Regions from separate parts of the Homo sapiens genome. Here region 1 is linked to region 2. Evidence: promoter capture Hi-C in human tissues and cell types (Jung and others, 2019). All regions are on one chromosome and are shown on one strand. Each heading gives the region's core, a stretch centred on a gene start or on the middle of the fragment in contact. The rest is flanking DNA. Distances are from core to core; before and after follow the strand shown.

The links. Contacts are between HindIII fragments. The study calls those that stand out against the background at their distance.
Region 1: a fragment that was not itself captured here is called in contact with the fragment with the promoter of SFSWAP in region 2 in 4 of the 25 tissues and cell types used here (H1 embryonic stem cells, adrenal gland, liver and 1 more).

Annotation. Positions count from the first base shown.
Region 1 is chr12:131,865,583-131,868,733 of GRCh38, forward strand. No RefSeq gene overlaps it. Among named protein-coding and RNA genes, the nearest start is that of ULK1, 27 kb to the right of the region's middle. RefSeq lists an enhancer at 2,242-2,838. The HindIII fragment of the contact is 5,868 bases long and covers 1-3,151 here.
Region 2 is chr12:131,709,671-131,712,486 of GRCh38, forward strand. SFSWAP (splicing factor SWAP) reads left to right here and starts at 1,420. Exons shown (of 18, transcript NM_004592.4): 1 at 1,420-1,777. The coding sequence starts at 1,560. RefSeq lists enhancers at 975-1,064, 1,205-1,494, 1,585-1,654. The HindIII fragment of the contact is 15,511 bases long and covers 1-2,816 here.

The DNA.
Region 1 (3,151 bases), core at 382-2,881, 160 kb after region 2:
GAATAATAAGCGCAAAACTCAGGCATGAGTAGCCTGGTTGGGGAGGTTGGGAGGATGGGATGGGAGGACCACAGATGACAATGAAAATGACTGGGCCGGGCGCGGTGGTCACACCTGTAACCCCAGCACTTGAAGAAGCTGAGGTGGGAGGATCGCTGGAGGCAGGAGTTCGAGACCAGCCTGGGCAACTTAGTGAGACCACCCCCCCCGCCCCCAATCTCTACAAAAAGTAAGAATAAAAATAAAACAGCCAGTCATAGTGGTGCACGCTGTAGTCCCAGCTACTCAGGAAGCTGAGATGGGAGAATTGCTTCAGCCAGGGAGGTGGAAGCTGCAGTGAGCCAAGATCCTGCCATTGCACTCCGGCCTGCACGACAGAGCGAGACCCTGTCTCAGAACAAACAGAAAAAATAAATTGGAGATGTTCTTAGTTTTGGGTGAGGTGGTGATTTACAGGGTGTTCCTTATTTAATTATGCTGTTTATATGTGCTATGTATATTATTATGTATGTATTACATAGCAATAAAGAAAAAGGTCTGAGAAGATTATTTAAGTAAACATACAGGAATTCCCAGTATGTTCTTTTTTCTTTTCTCATATACAGTATTTCTTCTTCACGAAAATTTTCAAGCTTAGAAAGGAGTTGACTTGGCTGGGTGCAGTGGCTCACACCTGTAATCCCAGCACTTTGGGAGGCCGAGGCGGGCAGATCACCTGAGGTCAGGAGTTCGAGACCAGCCTGGCCAACGTGGTGAAACCCCCATCTCTACTAAAAAATACAAAAATTAGCCAAGCGTGGTGGTGGGCGCCTGTAATCCCAACTACTCAGGCTGAGGCAGGAGAATCGCTTGAACCCAGGAGGTGGAGGTTGCAGTGAGCTAAGATCAAGCCATTGCACTCCAGCCTGGGCGACAGAGCGAGAGACTCCGTCTCAAAAAAAAGAAAAAAGAAAAAAGAAAGTAGTTGACTGGGCCTGGCGCGGTGGCTCACACCTGTAATCTCAGCACTTTGGGAGGCTGAGGTGGGTAGATCACTTGAGGTCAGGAGTTCGAGACCAGCTTGGCCAACATGGCGAAACCCCGTATCTACCAAAATACAAAAATTAGCCAGGCAGGGTGGCAGGTGCTTGTAATCTTAGCTACTCAGGAGGCTGAGGCAGGAGAATTGCTTGAACCTGGGAGGTGGAGGTTGCAGCGAGCTGAGATTACGCCACTGCACTCCAGCCTGGGCAACAGAGCAAGACTCTGTCTCAGAAAAAAAAAAAAAAAAAAGGAGTGGACTGTAATTCCGGCACTTTGGGAGGCTGAGGCAGGTGGATCACTGGAGCCCTGGAGTGTAAGACCACCCTGGGCAACATGGCAAAATCCCGTCTGTGAAAAAAATTCAAAAATTAGCCGGGCATGGTGGTGTGCACTGGTAGTCCCAGCTACTAGGGAGGCTGAGGTAGGAGGATCGCTTGAGTCTGGGAGTTGGAGGCTGCAGTGAGCTATGATTTCTCCACTGCACTTTAGCCTGGGGCAACAGAGTGAGACCCTGTCTCAAAAGAAATTTTTTTTAAAAGAAAGTAGTTGAATGAACAGCCTTTTATAAGCACCGCACCTAGATTCCAGCATTGTGAGGGCTTTGGATGTTGCTTTATTTATTTTTGTGCTTGTTATAGCAATTTTGAAATAAAAACAGATATCATGACATGTCTCTCCTAAATATTTTCTCTCTCTCTCTAAGAAGGTGCACATTTTCCTACATAACAATATCACGATCACATTTGACAAAATTAACAATTCCGGCCCAGGCACCATGGGTCATGCCTGGAATCCCAGCACTTTCTGAGACTGAGACTATAGGATCGCTTGAGCCTAGGGTTCAAGACCAGCCTGGGCAACATAGTGAGACCCCTTATCTAAAAAACACCAAAAACACAATGATTTTGTAATGTTGTGTCAGACCCATCCATATTGAAATGTGTCCCATCCCCACACACAATGATTTTGTAAGGTCGTGTGAGACCCATCCATATTGAAATGTGTCCCGTCCCCACAAAATATCTTTACATGGATTCGTTTGAACGATTACCCCATCCAGGGCCACGTGAGTTGTGTAAACCTCTTGAGCTACAGTGGCTTCCTATTTCCTCCACGTTGTGAGTGAACATCAGGGCCAGTTGTCCTGTGATGGAAGCTTGAAGCCATGTGGGCCGGGGAAGATGAGGAGTACAGGGGCCCGGGAGGCGTGGCTTTGGTTTAGGTGATCAGGGACAGCCCCTTAGGAGGGGACATCCGGCTGAATCCTAAAGTCACAGAGTGCCAGCCTTGTGCGGTTCCAGCGGAGTATGAGCCTGGCAGGGCTGAGGTGGGAGCTCACATGACTGAGCTTGGCCCGAGGTGTGTGGTGGGCATGGAAGGATGGTTAGAAGTTACGTCGTGGGTGCTGAACCAGGGAACGGACATGAGCCCACCCAGGCCTGTGGCTGGCAGGGCCGCAGCTGAGTCACTTGCTGGCCAGGCTGCAGGCCTGGCTCTGAGCCCTTTGTGGCATCAGATCCTCCATCCTCGAGGCAGCCCATGGGGTTCCCTCCAGGGTCTCCAGGAGCCGCAGCCACTCAGCCCCATGCAGGTCTGTCCCCTGCCCCATGGCCATGTGCGCGGACTGGGGTGCAGCTGAGAATGGTTCCCATTCAGGTCCAGGGCCCGGGCATCTGACCCTCAGCAGGGCCACAGCAGGGCCACAGCAGGGCCAAGCAGCCACAGGCCAAGCTCAGAGCTGCAGCCCGGGACGCCTGCACCCTCCACGGGGTGCTGAGGCCAGGCTGGCTCCTGCAGGAAGGGCAGGATACCCACAGGCCAGCGGTGGGAAGGCTGGATGCACGCTGGTGCCACGGCCCAATCCACCAGGAGGGCAGCGGTGTGAGAAGGGCAAAGGGAAGTGGCCCAGGCCTCACGGCCCACAGTGGGAAAGACAGGGGGAGCCGGCCCGGGATGCCCACAGGTGTGAGGAGCAGGTGCGCTGGGTGTGGCCGCCCAGACACAGCCTGGCCCGATCCCGGAGCAGGAGTCCCCCCGCCCCCACCTCAGAAGGCTGGGATCCGCCACTGCCCCCTTCCCCAAGGCTGGACCACATCCCAGGTCCCTGCAGGGGCGGCACAGCAGGTGG
Region 2 (2,816 bases), core at 170-2,669:
GGCAAACAACAGTGTTTTTATCAAGTAACCATGACACATACATCTTCCTCAGCAGTGGCAGAGCAGTCTTGTAGAGTTAGATAGGAAGATGATGGCCTGGCCACGCATGCTCAGCTGCTGGCCCGGCTCATTCTACAGGTATTAACCAGTATTTGGCCCACAGTGTGCTAAGCACCATTCTAGGTGCTGAGGATGCTAAGGTGACCCCAACAATGTCCCTGATCTCTTAAAGCTAATTCTGGTGGGATGCTGAACACAGGATGTAACCTAAGGTGGTGATGAGAGGTACACAGACAAATCGGAAGGCACAAGTTAGCCACCAGTGAGGGGAAACTCCAGACAACGTAGACACATAAGGCCAGGTGGAGAAATGGATGACTGAGTTAAACTTGGGTAAGGAGCCTGGCAAATGAAGACAGAAGCATGACCCAGTCAGGGGAAACCACAACAAAAGACGTTTGGTGGGAACTGCCTGTTTCTTAATTTCCAAAAATCAGTTAAAGGTTCATATACATTATCTCATTTCAACATCACTGGTAGAAAGATTCCATTTTTATGGAGAGGGGATCTGAGGCCCAGAAAGGAGACGATCTGTCATCGTTTTCCACTCAAGGGCAAACATGGGGATATCCCATCCCATCCCAAAGCCTAAGATTTTGCACTCCAGGCCCTTTGTCTGACCTGAAATTACTGAGCTAAAAGGGACCGAAAGATCCTAATGGAACCACCGATGGGAAAACTGCGGCCCAGGAGGAAACACACCAAGCAAAATTGCACCGTATCCAGGTGGCCAGTCTCCAGACTGGGGTCTCCCTGCCCCGCCAGACCATCTCCCGGCGACAAGGGTCTCAGGTTTCCGAAATCTCGCCACCCGCGAGTGATTTGCAGCGCAGGGGCCTCTGCTGCCTCGGAAACCTTCAAAGGTGGGCGGGTCGGGGACCAAGTCCCCCTAGGGATGGAGAAGGAAACGGGGCCAAGGAAAAGGACATCGCCACCCTGGGCAGAGCACGCACGGCCCCAGCGACTCGGACATGGTGAGGGGCGCGGAGGCTCGGGGTGGACCCGAGGCCTCCACACATGTGGCAGGCTGCAGCAACCCGCCACCCACGAGGACTCGCCCAAGGCCCAGAGCGCGCCGGGCCCCTCCCTCCGACTCCGTCGCCGCCCGACTGGCCGCAGCGGAAGCCGGCGCGCGATCCCACGCTGCGCTTTCGCCACGTCCTGACGGCTGCCCGATAAAACGGACATTAAAATTGCACTTTCCACTGAATACAGCAGCGCCTATTGTGGCGGCACACCTGAATGCGAAAATTAAAGCCAAAATATTTCCTAGCGGCTAAAAGAGCTCCAAGCCTAGGCGAATCTGCCGGTCCGCTCGCCGGAAATGCGGGCTCTCCTGCCGGAAGCTGCCCCTCCACCATTTTGTGGCCCGCTATGGCGGCGGTGTTGAGGTTGGGTACGGGATGCGGGGTCTTTGACTGAAGGGGTAGGCCAAGTGGAGGTATCAGGGACGTCGCGCGGCACAGAAGAGGACCAGCCTGGACGCCGGGGACGCTGTCATGTACGGCGCGAGCGGGGGCCGCGCCAAACCCGAGAGGAAAAGCGGCGCGAAGGAGGAGGCCGGGCCAGGCGGTGCCGGCGGTGGGGGCAGCCGAGTGGAGCTCTTGGTTTTCGGCTATGCCTGCAAGCTGTTCCGGGACGACGAGCGGGCCCTGGCTCAGGAACAGGGACAGCACCTCATCCCCTGGATGGGGGACCACAAGATCCTCATCGACAGGTCGGTTCCTCTCCCCACCCGTCGATCCTTCCCTTCCCTCACCCGCTTGATCTCGTCTGATGTTGACTTGACTGCAAGGACTGCAGAGAGTTTTCTGGAGCCAGCGGGGATCTGGGGGACACCCCCTCCCCTGTCCCCACCTCCTCCTGGTGTTCTGGTGGGGAGGGGGACGGTGAAACCTGCCCTAAGGCACTGGCTGGAATTGCGTGCCGCGTCCGTCTCCGGAGGGATCGTCTCTGGTCCCGCAGCCCCTCTCGACCCCTCACCCTGTCGCTGGGCTGCAGTTGGCGATTCCGCGCGGTGAAAGCAGCCAGTGCCCAGGGTCTTTTCCTGAGTGCACCTGGGCCTGCCGCCCGGCGATGCCATGGGGTCGTGCGCTGCTTTTCTACTTGCCGCGCTCTCACTGCTCGGTGTACTGGGAGGGTACCCTGGGAGGCGTGCCTTTATTCTTCCGAACCGCCGCTCACTGAGACAGTGGCTAGAAGTGTCTCTTGGACCTGTGAGTTAGCCTTAACCTGTTATGCCCCCAGAGCCCTCAGTGGAGCGCCCGTACTTTGCCGGCATGACGTTTGATTTCCCGGTGATAATCCGACGAGTTTGACAGATTGAGGTAGTGAGCAAAGTTGCCCGTCAGTTGGTGGCCACTTGACTTCGTGCGGACCCTGGCCTTGCTCTTGGAAGAGATAGTGTTCTTAGGGCTGGTTTCACTGTCTCTTAAGACTGAAGGGTGGAGCTGGGATATAGATGTGTTGTTTCTTTTCAAATCAAACCTGCTTTAGGTCGTCACTCGAGGGTGTCTAGCGATTATGGGCAGTGGGGGCCTGGGATTAGGGATTTCTAAAGGCGTTTGATTTGAAAAGGATAACATTACATGATGTAGGTGGTTTGCTCCCCTCTTTCTTCCCATTTTTTCAATCCCCCTTCCCCTCGTCTCTGGGTTTTGGGGTTGTTGTGGGGTGGTTTTTTTTCTTTTTTGCCTGTTCGGCTACTTCTGGGGCCCGGACTGAAAAGCTAACCATGACCAACCATTAAACTGTGG